Regions from separate parts of the Homo sapiens genome. Here all the other regions are linked to region 3. Evidence: promoter capture Hi-C in human tissues and cell types (Jung and others, 2019). All regions are on one chromosome and are shown on one strand. The core of a region is centred on a gene start or on the middle of the fragment in contact, and the rest is flanking DNA. Distances in the headings are between cores, read along the strand shown.

Region 1 (4,317 bases), core at 255-2,754, 59 kb before region 3:
GTGGGCACTCAGTGAATGGCAGCTGCACCATCTGAGCACCTGGAGCTCAGGGGCATCTGGACAAAGGCCCTTCCAAGGTGGGGGCGAGAAACCAGAGCTGGCCAGCCAGTGTACGTGGACAGGTAGGCACAGCCTGCACAGAAGCAGGAGGCCAGCTCTGGGTACAGGAAGGAAGAAAGGAAGTCCTGGAAGGCCTCTGTGGCCTGGCTGGTTAATGAGTGTTTCAGATGCACAGAACACCTACCCCACCCTGCCTGTCGCCAGCCTTGCAGGTGCCGCGGACTCCCCATGCAGCCAGCCCCAACGCTCCCCGACCCCTGAACGTGTGGCTGTCATTCCCAGGCATGTCTTTGGTTCTTTTCAGCAGGAGTATGTTCCTGACCATTCAAGCTGCTGTTTTGCTTACTTAGGTTTTTTGTTTTGTTTTGTTTTTTTGAGAGACAATGTCTCACGCTGTCACCCAGGCTGGAGTGCGGAGGCATGATCTGGGCTCACTGCAACCTCAATCTCCTGGGCCCAAGCCATCCTTCTGCCTCAGCCCCCTAAAGTAGCTGGGACTACGGGCACGTGCCTCCACGCCCGGCTAATTTTTTTGTATTTTTAGTAGAGACGGGGTTTCGCCATGTTGCCCAGGCTTGTCTGAAACTCCTGGACTCAAGCGCTCCGCCTGCCTCAGCCTCCTAAAGTGCTGGGATTACAGGCGTGAGCCACCATGCCCGGCCTCCTACTTAGGTTTTTATGTAAATATCATCTTATTCAACGGATCCTTCTGCAGCTTGCTTTGTTGGCTGAGTGGCGTGTTTTGAGGTTTTGAGGTTCGGGCTTGTTGCTAACTGTGGCGGCGATTGGTCATCTGAGGTCTTCACTAATGATAAATCATGGCGCGTGAACATGCGTGGAGGCACCTGGCCATGCCCATGTCCGAGGAGTCCTCTAGGAGGACTTGGAGAAAGGGCCCTGCCATGCACTGGTGACTATACCAGCACACACTCCCCACAGGGGCCGAGTGGTCCTGTTGCTTCTGTCTGTCTTATCCTTGCCTGTGTTGAAGCCTACTCCCTAGGACCCAGACCCCCCAGCAGGGCCCCAGGACATTGTTGGAAGTCGCCCTCAGGTTCTGAGCCCCTCCCTTCTGTACTGTGGGGGTCATCCCGGGAGTCCTCTCCTGGAGCTCTGTGCCTGGGGAGGTACGTCCAGCATGGCATGGATGGCGGGCTTCCATAGGGGCCTTTCCTGGCTTGTTCTTTTCTGGGAGAAACCTGAGCCGACTGCCACCTTCCTCGGGTGTGTTTTGGGTAAAGTCTTGAGGCCAGAAAGATCTTGCATCCCTCAAGCACTCTTGAGCTGGTGCTGAACCAGGGCACAGGCAGGTCCCGCGGCGGAGTCTTGAGCTCTGCCTCCTTCGCACTGTACTGAGCTGAGTGTGAGGATGGTGCCAGCCCAGGCCCTGCAGTTTCTGGAGCCCTCGATGTTCATTGTCTCGCGTGAGCCTCACAGCTGCGTGGCAAAGTCAGTTTACTGGGCAGAGCACATTTTCCCATTTCACAGAGGAGGAAACAGGCTCAGAGAAGTTAATCCGTTGGTCCAGAGTCACACAGTAAGACCTGGAGCCCAGACTCCATCTCCTGCCTCCTGTTTGGACCCTGAGGGTTCGGGGTTGGCTGCCTGCTCCTGGAACCCCCACCCAGTGTCAGAAGCTCCTGGTCCAGGCAGTAGCAGGCTGCCTGCTCCCGGCCCAGCGGAGGCCTGTACAGAGCGTGATGGGCCCTGTGTCTGTTGCAGGTGCACTGTGAAGAGTTCATCCCCGAGTTTGAGAAGCAATACCCAGAATTTCCCTGGACGGACGTCCAGGTAATTCCTGTCCTGCACACCATCGCAGGCCGGTGGGGCGGGTCCCGGGCTGGGGGCCTGCAGGAGCTGCTCCCTTCCCTCTCTGCTGGCATGGGCTGGGAGGGACCTTTGTCCCCTGCAGTTGGTCATTCTCCCCAGAGGCTGGCAAGACAGCGTGGGCTCCCCTCCCTTCCACCCTGGGCATTTGTGGGTGCTCCTGAGAGGGAGGGAGCTGGAGGGGCATGTGGGGCACCCCTGGGACAGCCAGAGGGTGGCGGCACTGCCTGACCCTAGATTCCCAGTCATATGGAGACGTTGGCTGGGCCTCCATGTCCAGCAGCGGCATTCTGGGTGCTGTGTTGAGCTCCTTGGGGCAGTGGGGAGCAACGGGGTCTGCGGCAGGAGATGGGCAGATTTGCAGAAGGTGGGCGTCAGGAGTAAGAGGGCAGGTGCTGGGCGGAGGTGGCCATGGTGAGGTCTAGAGACGTGAAGATGTGGGAGGGGGTGACTTGGGCCACGTGGGGCCCGGGACTTGGGCAGGGGCAGCAGACCCCCTCTTGAGAGGCTGTTCTGAGCAGGCCTCGTAACTCAGGCTCCCCGGTCCCCAGGCTGAGATCTTCCGGGCCTTCACGGAGCTGTTCCAGGTGGCCTGTGCCAAGCCACCACCCCTGGGCCTCTGCGACTACCCCTCATCCCGGGCCATGTATGCCGTCGACCTCATGCTGAAGTGGGACAACGGCCCAGATGGTAAGAGGGGCTCCCCATCTCCTGATCCAAACCAGCAGGCGCCCCCTCCGCCAGCCAGCCACAGCCTGGAGAAGGCAGGCAGCTGCCCCAGGCTGTCCTCTGGCTTGAATCAGCCAGGAATCTGGGTTGGGGAAAGCCCTGGCTTGGCCCACAGGAAGTGCCTGCGGTGCAGAGTCTGGAGGGGAAAGGCTGCGGGTTGGGCCTCTGAGTCGGGGGAGAGCTCACAGGACAGGAGACCCGTGTGAAAGGCACCCTGACCCCAACCCACACCACCCTGGCTGGCCTTCCCTGTGCCAGACCCCCACACAGTACACTGCTGCTGCATATCTACTTTTTTTTTTTTTTACTAAACTGAACATCCAAGCTTAAAGGGCCAGGCTGTCATCCCTAGGGCTGGAGGCAGCCCTGGCCTCTCCTAGAGAAGCAGATGTCAGGCCAGGCCTCCCCAGCAAAGTCAAGAGACCCAAGTTCTAGGCCCGGCCTTGTCCTGCTCATCCCCTGGGAATCAGGGCCCAGGTTCATGGCCTCCCAGCCTTTGCTGGATCCCCAGGCCACTGTCCCTGCAGAGTGGAGGCCAACGAGCCTTCACACTCTGCTGCGCTCTTTGCCATCAGGAAGGCGGGTGATGCAGCCGCAGATCCTGGAGGTGAACTTCAACCCCGACTGTGAGCGAGCCTGCAGGTACCACCCCACCTTCTTCAACGACGTCTTCAGCACCTTGTTTCTGGACCAGCCCGGTGGCTGCCACGTTACCTGCCTTGTCTAGGCACTCGCTGTCCCCAAAACCTGTGCTTGGGGCAGGATTCCAACCTCAGTTCTCTGAGCTGCTTCTGCAAAGGCCCCCATGTCCCTCCCCACACCGGCCCTGGGCATAGCCTCAGCCCCAGGCCTCTGTCCTGCCGAGCCATCCTCCCGGCGCCACACTCCGGGAGCACAGCATCCTCCTCTCACCTGTGGGTCAGAGCAGGACAGTGATGGTGTCCCCAGGGCTGAGCACCACCCCACGCCCTGCCCTCACCCCTCACCACCATCTGTGCACTGATGAGTCTCCAGTTTAGCCAAGGGCTTTGTTCCTGGCATGGAGAATTTGTTCCTGGCTGCTGTGTTTCCAGGGGGTGCTGGGGGAAGGGTTCCGTGGAGCGAGACAAGGTGTCCTCGGGAGCAGGGTTCCACCGGGAAGCGTTTGGGAGCCCTGTATCACACGGGGCAGGCGGGTTTCTCTTCCGGGGTCTCTGCTCTTATGCATCAGGACGACCCCGGGACGGCTGTGGGGCCCCACACTGCACCCACAGGGCTCTATGCGACAGGGGCCCAGGAACAGCCTGAGGCCACCACCCAGCAAGCCCGCCTTATCACCCATTCCAGCTCACCCAGAACCTTCACCAGCAAACCTCCTGCTGAGGTCCTGGCAGGAGGCCACCGTCTTGTTACCGTTTCCTTTTCGTTTGCTGAGGGTCACAGACCCCAACAGGGAAATCAGTATCTGTCTTCCCAGTGGTTGCCCTGCTCGCCGGGCACTCCACGGGGTCCCGCCCTTGTGTGAGATGGGCCAGGATCCTTCGGCAAGGGGCGCCTGGGGCTGGGGCTGATTGTGGGCGGTGGAGCGCCAGACAGAAAAGGATTCCAATGAGAACTTCAGGTTAAAGTCAGATGCCACCTACCAGGGTCTACAGTCAAAATGTTGGCTTTTTCTTATTTTTTAATGTATGGGAGAAAAATGTAAAATTCCAGTTCTTTTCT
Region 2 (3,810 bases), core at 266-2,765, 37 kb after region 3:
TCTCAGCTCATTGCAATCTCTGCCTCCTGGGTTCAAGCGATTCTCCTGCCTTAGGCTCCCAAGTACCTGGGATTACAGGCGCCACCACACCTGGCTAATTTTTTTGTGTTTTTAGTAGAGACGGGGTTTCACCATGTTGGCCGGGCTGGTCTTGAACTTTGTGATCCACCCGCCTCGGCCTCCCAAAGTGCTGGGATTACAGGTCTAAGCCAAGCGCCTGGCCACATTTTTTTCTTTTTTTGTAGAGACAGGGTCTTGCTATGTTGCCTAGGCTGGTCTTGAATTCCTGGCCTCAAGGGACCTTCCCATCTCGGCCTCCCAAAGTGCTGGGATTACAGGCATGAGCCACCATGTCCGGCCATGAATAAGAAGCAGTTTGGAGTTATTCTTTTTTTCTTTTTTGGTCATAAAGCTGCTGTTTATTTATTTATTTATTTATTTCAGAGGCAGAGTCTTCCCATGTTGCCCAGGCTGGTCTCAAACTCCTGGACTCAAGTGATCTTCCCACTTCAGCCTCCCAAAGTGTTGGGATTACAGGCGTGAGCCACTGTACCCAGCCTTCGGAGCTATTCTCAACAACAGCAAAAAATGGAATGAAATGAAGAAAAAGGCTAAACAGTGTAATAGTCTTGGCTAATTGATACATATATTTTTTTTTCTTTCTTTCTTTCTTTTTTTTTTTTTTTTTTTGAGACGAAATTTCGCTCCTGTCACCCAGACTGGAGTGCCATGGGGCAATCTCGGCTCATTGCAACCTCCACCTCCTGGGTTCAAGCGATTCTCCTGCCTTAGCCTCCCTAGTAGCTGGGATTACAAGCATGTGCCACCACGCCTGGCTTATTTTGTATTTTTAGTAGAGACGGGGGTTTCTCCATGTTGGTCAGGCTGGTCTCGAACTCCCGACCTCAGGTGATCCGCCCGCCTTGGCCTCCCAAAGTGCTAGGATTACAGGCGTGAGCCACTGTGCCTGGCCAAGCTAATTGATATTTTGAGAGCTCTTGTTCTGGCCGTCATGCCCGTAATCCCAGCACTGTGGGAGGCCAAGGCCGGTGGATCACTTGAGGCCAGGAGTTGGAGACCAGCATGACCAACATGACAAAACCTTGTCTCTACTAAAAATACAAAAAAACTAGCTGGGTGTGGTGGTGCCTGCCTGTAATCCCAGGAACTCGGGAGATTGAAGCAGGAGAATCGCTTGAACCCAGGAGGTGGAGGTTGCAGTGAGCTGAGATCGCGCCACTGCACTCCAACCTGGGTGACAGTGAGACTCTGTCTCAAAAAAAATAAATAAATAAATAAATAAAAAAGAAGAGCTTCTGTTCTAAGCACTAAATGTACAATCAGGTTTACAGAAAAATTGGTTGGGGTAAAATACTGGAAACAACTAAATGTTAAACAGTATGGGGGGGTGGGTTAAGTACTTTGAGTGGATTATGGTGCAGCCGTTAAAATAATTATGATGGGCTGGGCACAGCGGCTCATGCCTGTAATCCCAGCACTTTGGGAGGCCAAGGCGGGTGCATCACCTGAGGTCAGGAGTTGGAGACCAGCCTAGCCAACTTGGTGAAACCCCATCACTACAAAAATACAAAAATTATCTGGGTGTGGTGGTGCGCACCTGTAATCCTAGCTGCCCGGGAGGCTGAGGCAGGCAAATGGCCTCAACCTGGGAGGCAGAGGTTGCAGTGAGCTGAAATCACACCACTGCACTCCAGCCTGGGTGACAGAGTGAGACTGTACCTCAAAAAATAAAATAAATAAATAAATAAATAAATAAATAAATAAATAAATAGACCGGGCGCAGTGGCTCACACCTATAATCTCAGCACCTTGGGATGCCCAGGCAGGTGGATCACCTGAGGTCAGGAGTTTGAGACCAGCCTGGCCAACCATGGCCAACATGGTGAAACCCTGTCTCTACTAAAAATACAAAAATTAGCTGGGCTTAGTGGCAGGCGCCTGTAATCCCAGCTACTTGAGAGGCTGAGGCAGGGAGAATTGCTTGAACCCAGGAGGCGGAGGTTGCAGTTAGCTAAGATCGCACCACTGCACTCCAGCCTGGGCGACACAGCAAGACTGTCTCAAAAAAAAAAAAAGAATAATTGCAATGAATTGAAACTTATCATATGTATTTGAATTTATAAGTTCATACAACTGCAAACAGAAAAATACCCCAAAAGCCACATACCCAATTTGTGGCAGATTAAAGATGGCCACAGGCCAGGGCATAGAACTCTTGGGCACAGTGGCTCATGCCTGTAATCCCAGCACCTTGCGAGGAGTTTGAGACCAGCCTGGGCAGTATACTGAGACCCTGTCTCAAAAAAATTAGCTGGGTGGTGGGGTGCCTGGGTGCAGTGACTCATGCCTGTAATCCCAGCCTTTTGGGAGGTGGAGGCAGACAGATCTCTTGAGCCCAGGAGTTTGACACCAGCCTGTGCAAATGGTGAAACCTCATCTCTACAAACAAATACAAAAATTATCCAGGCATAGTGGTTCGTGCCTGTAGCCCCAGCTACTTGAGAGGCTGAGGTGGGAGGCTTGCTTGAGCCCAGGAGGTCAAGACTACAGTGAGCCTTGATTGTGCTACTGCACTCCAGCCTGGGCAACAGAGTGAGACCTTGTCTCTAAAAGAAAGAAAGAAAGAGAGAAAATAAAGATGGTGGCCAGGCGCGGTGGCTCACGCCTGTAATCCCAGCACTTTGGGAGGCCGAGATGGGCGGATCACAAGGTCAGGAGATCGAGACTATCCAGGCTAACACAGTGAAACCTCATCTCTACTAAAAATACAAAAAAATTATCCGGGCGTGGTGGCGAGTGCCGGTAGTCCCAGCTACTCGGGAGGCTGAGACAGGAGAATGGCGTGAACCCGGGAGGCGGAGATTGCAGTGAGCCGAGGTCACGCCACTACACTCCAGCCTGGGCGACAGAGCAAGACTCCGTCTCAAAAAAAAAAAAAAAAAGAAAAAGAAAATAAAGATGGTTGCGAAGTTCTTGCCACTACTTCACTCTAAAGTTGAGGTCTTTGTCCTTTCCTCGTGAAAGACTCTTTGACCACATTGACCAGTGGAATACAGTAAAAATCATACATGCCTGGGCCCAGGCCAATTCCTCTGTTGGAAACATGTGGGTGCCCTGAGCTGTCCTGTGAGAAGGTGCCATCCTGAAGCCCTCGTGCCACAGCGGCCACAGGTAGGTGTTGTACATGGCAGTGCAGCTGTGCCCACCTTCCAGCCTCCAGCTAGGCCTGCCAAGGTGTTAGACATGAAGAAAGCCTTCTGGGACCCCCAGCTCATCCCATCGGCTGGCTCTACACTTCTGAATGACCTCAGTCAGTGCCACAAGGAGAAGTAGAATTGCTCAGCTGAGCCCTGCCCCAATTCTCAGCCTTCCAAAGTGCTGGATTATAGGCCGGCATGGTGGCTCACGCCTGCAATCCTAGCACTGTGGGAAGCCAAGTCGGGCAGATCACCTGAGGTCAGGAGTTTGAGACCAGCCTGGCCAACGTGGCAAAACCCCGTCTCTACTAAAAATATAACAATTAGCGGTGTGTGGTGGTTCATGTCTGTAATCCCAGCTACTCAGGAGGCTGAGGCAGGAGAATGGCTCGAACCTGCGAGGCAGAGGTTGCAGTGAGCCAAGATCGTGCCACTGCACTCCAGCCTGGGCAACAGAGTAAAACTCTATCTCCAAAAACAAATAAACAAAACAAAACAAAACAAAACAAAAGTGCTGGATTACAGACGTGAGCCACTGCGCCCGGCCAGCTCTTTATTTTGAAAAACTGATAAATAAAGGGAAAGAATCAAG
Region 3 (4,126 bases), core at 327-2,826:
CTAGGAGGCTGAGGCAGGAGAACCGTTTGAACCCAGGAGGCCGAGGTTGCAGTTAGCCGAGACGGCGCCATTGCACTCCAGCCTGGGCAACAAGAGCGAAGCTCTGTTTCAAAAAAAAACAAAAAGAAACAAAAAACACCCAAACTGTGCCATTCCTGAGAACTTATTCCAAAGGCGTGCCCAAATTAAGTAGAAATCGGGGTGAGTCTTAACTCCAGGGAGGCTACTAACTTGAGAGGGGCTTTCACCTGGCCAGAAACCTCAGGGATACATTTTGCAGAGTGAACAGAACAAACTGAGGTTCAGAGAGATGGAGTGGCCCTTCCGAGGCCACAGGGCTGGAGAGTGGAAAGAGGTTTTGGCTTGGGTTCCATAAAGGGCCCTTGGCTTCTAGCTAGACAACCCTGGCATTTCTGTGCCTCCTGGGACTGAAATCTCTGTTTCTCCACCTGGAAGATGAGGCCTCCTGCTCCCAGGGGCAGACAGATGTTAAGAACTTCCCGGCGCTAGTGCCCACCAGACTGCGCTCCTCCTAATGCGGGGACATGAGGCTGACACCAATGCTCCCTGGGAAGCTCGGGCTCCCAGACCACAGTAAACACTGCGTTAAAACAGCAACAAAAATGTTACAATAGTAAGAGCTACAACAGTAACATCAACAACCACGTCCTACCCCACGAGTGGCTCATTCTAGCAAAATTGACAATGAAGGGCTTGAAAGCGATCGCATTTAGGAGGCCAGAGCCCAGACGACGACCAGCTCCGAACCCCACAAGCCTTGTCGTGACCGCGCCCCGCAGGCGGGGGGCCCCCTCGCGGGTCACCCGCAGGGGCGCACCTCCAATTTACCAAACAAGGTCGCATGCCCCAGCCGGGCTCTAGTCCCCGCCCAGTCTGGGGCGCACCTGTGCAGGGCGCGTGGGCAAGCGAGGGCGGGCGGCTGCGCGCCGCTCCGTGTGCACGTTCCTGTTCCGGACTTTCTGGGCGTCCCGTTACGAAGCCTTTCCTCGGCCCTTCCTCAGGTGCGCAGCGCCTCCGGGAGCCGGTCCCGGCGGCACCGGGCACGACGCCATCTTCCCTCTTTTAAGGGCACCGGGGCTGTGCGGCCGCGGCCGTGGGCTGGCGTTGCCGCGCTACGGTCTGGCCGGGTCCGCACGACCCCAGAGTTCGGAGCCGGGTGCCCGGAAGCCGCACTGGAGGACTGTGCGGCGGCGATGGGGCGTCCAGCCGTCGCGGCGAGACGCAGAGGGACCACCCCATTGCACAGGCGCGGAGACTGAGGCCCGCAGGGGCCGCGCCTGGCACGATCGCCCGTCGGGGACCTGGAGCCCCGGACAGAGAGGGTACGTTTCGGAGCCGGAGTCCCGAGACGTCGCCCCGCCAGCGACTTGCTGGAGCGGTAAAACCTGGGCACGGCTCCCCACACTTCCAGCCGCTCGGCACCCGGGCCGCGGCCTGGGCGCTAACCGCCGGGCTCGAGCTGGGCGGAGCAGCGGGCGGCAGCAGGGTCGGGGGCACTCACCTGGCGGCGGCGATGCTGGCAGCGTCTGTAAGCCACCCGGGAGGCTTCGTGTCTGCGGCCCGGCTGCCGGCGCGGGACCTAATAGGCCCGGGCGCCCCGCCCCTCCCGCCCCGCCCGGGTCCCGCCCCTCCCCGGGAGCGGCCTCTCGCACCCCGAGCGCGGAATCCCGGACTGGGGTCTGAATGGCATTGGCAACAGAACCGCTACAAGTGCAGCCCGTTGGCTTGTTTACAGCCTCTCTGCCCCCTGCTGTTCTGCAAGCTTGTTTTGTCCCGTGCGTCGCTGTTTCCCCTGCGCCCAGCACGGGCGTGCACTCAGGGGTTTCCATCAATATCGGGGGGATCGATCCATTGACAGAATCTGGCCCTTTACACGGATGGCCTCCGTTCGAGCTCAAAGTACTCCTCGGTGCTTTTTTTCACGATCATTTTACCCACGTGGAAACCGAGGCTCCAAGAGGACGAAATGACTTAAATGACAGCGTGAAGCCAGCGTTCAAAGACGTGTGCTCCTTAGGCTGGCAGCTTTGGGATTTAGGTGTTTTAAAGCCTATTTCACAAATATGAAAACCGAGGTTCACATTTGGTTAGCAGCAGCATCCAGTGATCCATACCCGAAGCCAGGGGGCTGCCCCTCCACTGCCGCCCGTCCGCAGCCTTCCAGCTGCATGACACACCCACTGCCTTCCCCCTCCCGTCGGGGCTCCGGGTCCGCGAGAGGCGGGCGGGACTGGGAGGGATTGGGGGCAGGGGGCTCACGTGCAGACCTGGTGAGACGGACCCCACAGCGCCTGGCGGGGCGAACAGAGAAATCAGAAAGCTTCCAGGCGGGGTGGGCGGGTGGGCAGCCTGCTACGCGGGGATGGGTAGGACCTAACTCCAGCCCTGGGGTATATTGGGGGTGGGAGAAGGCAGAGCGCTCCTGGAATAACAAAGTAACAATTGTCCTGGGCACGGCAAAGCTTGTTTACTTCTGTCTTGATCCCCTCAGAGATTAGGGGAGGGGCAGGGACAGGGGTTCCCCTCCCCCAGCTCTGTCGTTTGCTACCTGTTGGGTACCCTCACTCTGTTCTTCCCACCTCTAGGGTAATTACTTCCCCTTCAATGTTCTCATCTGTGAAATGGACAACAGCACCTACCAAGAGCTGGGCTGTTGGGAGGAACAGAGGAGGTAAAGTGTGATAAAGTCTTCAGAGCCCCTCCCGCCTTCCGGGCTCTGGACCTTCTTTGCTTTTGTGGGGTTTTTTTGTTTGTTTTTGTTTTTGTTTTTTTGAGACAGAGTCTAGCCCTGTTGCCCAGGCTGGAGTGCAGTGGCACAATCTTGGCTCACTGCAACGTCTGTCTCCCAGGTTGAAGCAATCCTCCCGCCTCAGCCCCCCTAGTAGCTGGATTACAGGCGTGTGCCACCATGCCCGGCTAGTTTTTGTATTTTTAGTAGAGACGGGGTTTTGCCATATTGGCCAGGCTGGTCTTGAACTCCTGACACCAGGTGATCCACCGGCCTCGGGCTCCCAAAGTGCTGGGATTACAGGCGTGAGCCACCACTCCCGGCCCTGTAGTCTTTTCTTCTAGGGCCTCCAAACTACATCAACCCCTACAAAGCAGCTCGCCCTGACTGTGGCTAACAGCCACAGAGTGCCTTACAGTCAGGAGCAGGGAACCCTTCATAATGGGGGCTTCCCTCTGAATGCATTTTGCAGATGAAAAAATTGAGACTCAGGGAGGTAAAGCAATGACACGGGGTCTCATGGGTCCGAAAGACCTGATATATGTGAGATGCTTGCAGAGGGGTCTTAAGGCTGGAGGCACAGTGCCAGGTATGTAGGAGATGTTCAGTAAACATTAGCAGAAAAGATGGAGAAAGAAGGACCGTTTGGGGACACTGGATGATTCAAGGGCAGAGTGGGTGCAAATACAGTACTTATTTACTTTGCAAAATCCCAAGACAATATGCTGATCAAAAGGAGGAAGAGATGGCTGGGCATGGTGGCTCACGCCTATAACCCCAGCACTTTGGGAGGCCAAGGCAGGTGGATCACCTGAGGTCAGGTGTTTGAGACCAGCCTGGCCAACATGACGAAACTCCATCTCTACTAAAAATTAAAAAACTAGGCCAGGCGCGGTGGCTTGCGCCTGTAATCTCAGCACTTTGGGAGGACAAGGCAGGCGGCTCATCTGAGGTCAGGAGTTTGAGACCAGCCTGACCAACATGGAGAAACCCCATCTCTACTAAAAATACAAAATTAGCTGGGCGGGGTGGCACATGCCTGTAATCCCAGCTACTCGAGAAGGTTGAGGCAGGAGAATTAGGGAGGCAGAGGTTGCAGTGAGCTGAGACCACGCCATTATACTCCAGCCTGGGCAACAAGAGTGAAACTCTGTCTCAAAAAAAAAAAAAAAAAAGTAGCGGGTGTGATGGCACTCACCTGTAGTCCCAGCTACTTGGGAGGCTGAGGCAGAGAATTGCTTGAACCTGGGAGGCCTTGATTGCAGTGAGCCAAGATCGTGCCACTGCACTCCAGCCTGGGCAACACAGCAAGATTCTTCTGTCTAAAAAAAAAAAAAAGCTCACGAAGGAAACTGTCTTGGAGATGCATGATCGCAT

What was found. The method cuts DNA at HindIII sites, captures the fragments that hold promoters and counts their contacts. A contact is called where the count stands out against the background at its distance.
Region 1: a contact is called between a fragment that was not itself captured here and the fragment with the promoter of BIK in region 3, in 3 of the 25 tissues and cell types used here (liver, mesenchymal stem cells and thymus).
Region 2: a fragment that was not itself captured here is called in contact with the fragment with the promoter of BIK in region 3 in 2 of the 25 tissues and cell types used here (liver and mesenchymal stem cells).

Annotation. Positions count from the first base shown.
Region 1 is chr22:43,167,034-43,171,350 of GRCh38, reverse strand. TTLL12 (tubulin tyrosine ligase like 12) reads left to right here. Exons shown (of 14, transcript NM_015140.4): 12 at 1,783-1,851; 13 at 2,439-2,577; 14 at 3,192-4,317. The coding sequence ends at 3,343. Among named protein-coding and RNA genes, the nearest start is that of TSPO, 18 kb to the right of the region's middle. RefSeq lists enhancers at 1,431-2,286, 2,287-3,143. The HindIII fragment of the contact is 9,757 bases long and covers 1-4,317 here.
Region 2 is chr22:43,071,308-43,075,117 of GRCh38, reverse strand. The region is part of intron 3 of TTLL1 (TTL family tubulin polyglutamylase complex subunit L1); the gene reads left to right. Among named protein-coding and RNA genes, the nearest start is that of TTLL1, 16 kb to the left of the region's middle. The HindIII fragment of the contact is 8,863 bases long and covers 1-3,810 here.
Region 3 is chr22:43,108,200-43,112,325 of GRCh38, reverse strand. It overlaps BIK (BCL2 interacting killer), which reads right to left and starts at 1,576. Exons shown (of 5, transcript NM_001197.5): 1 at 1,523-1,576. RefSeq lists silencers at 707-926, 1,457-1,626 and an enhancer at 951-1,509. The HindIII fragment of the contact is 22,290 bases long and covers 1-2,062 here.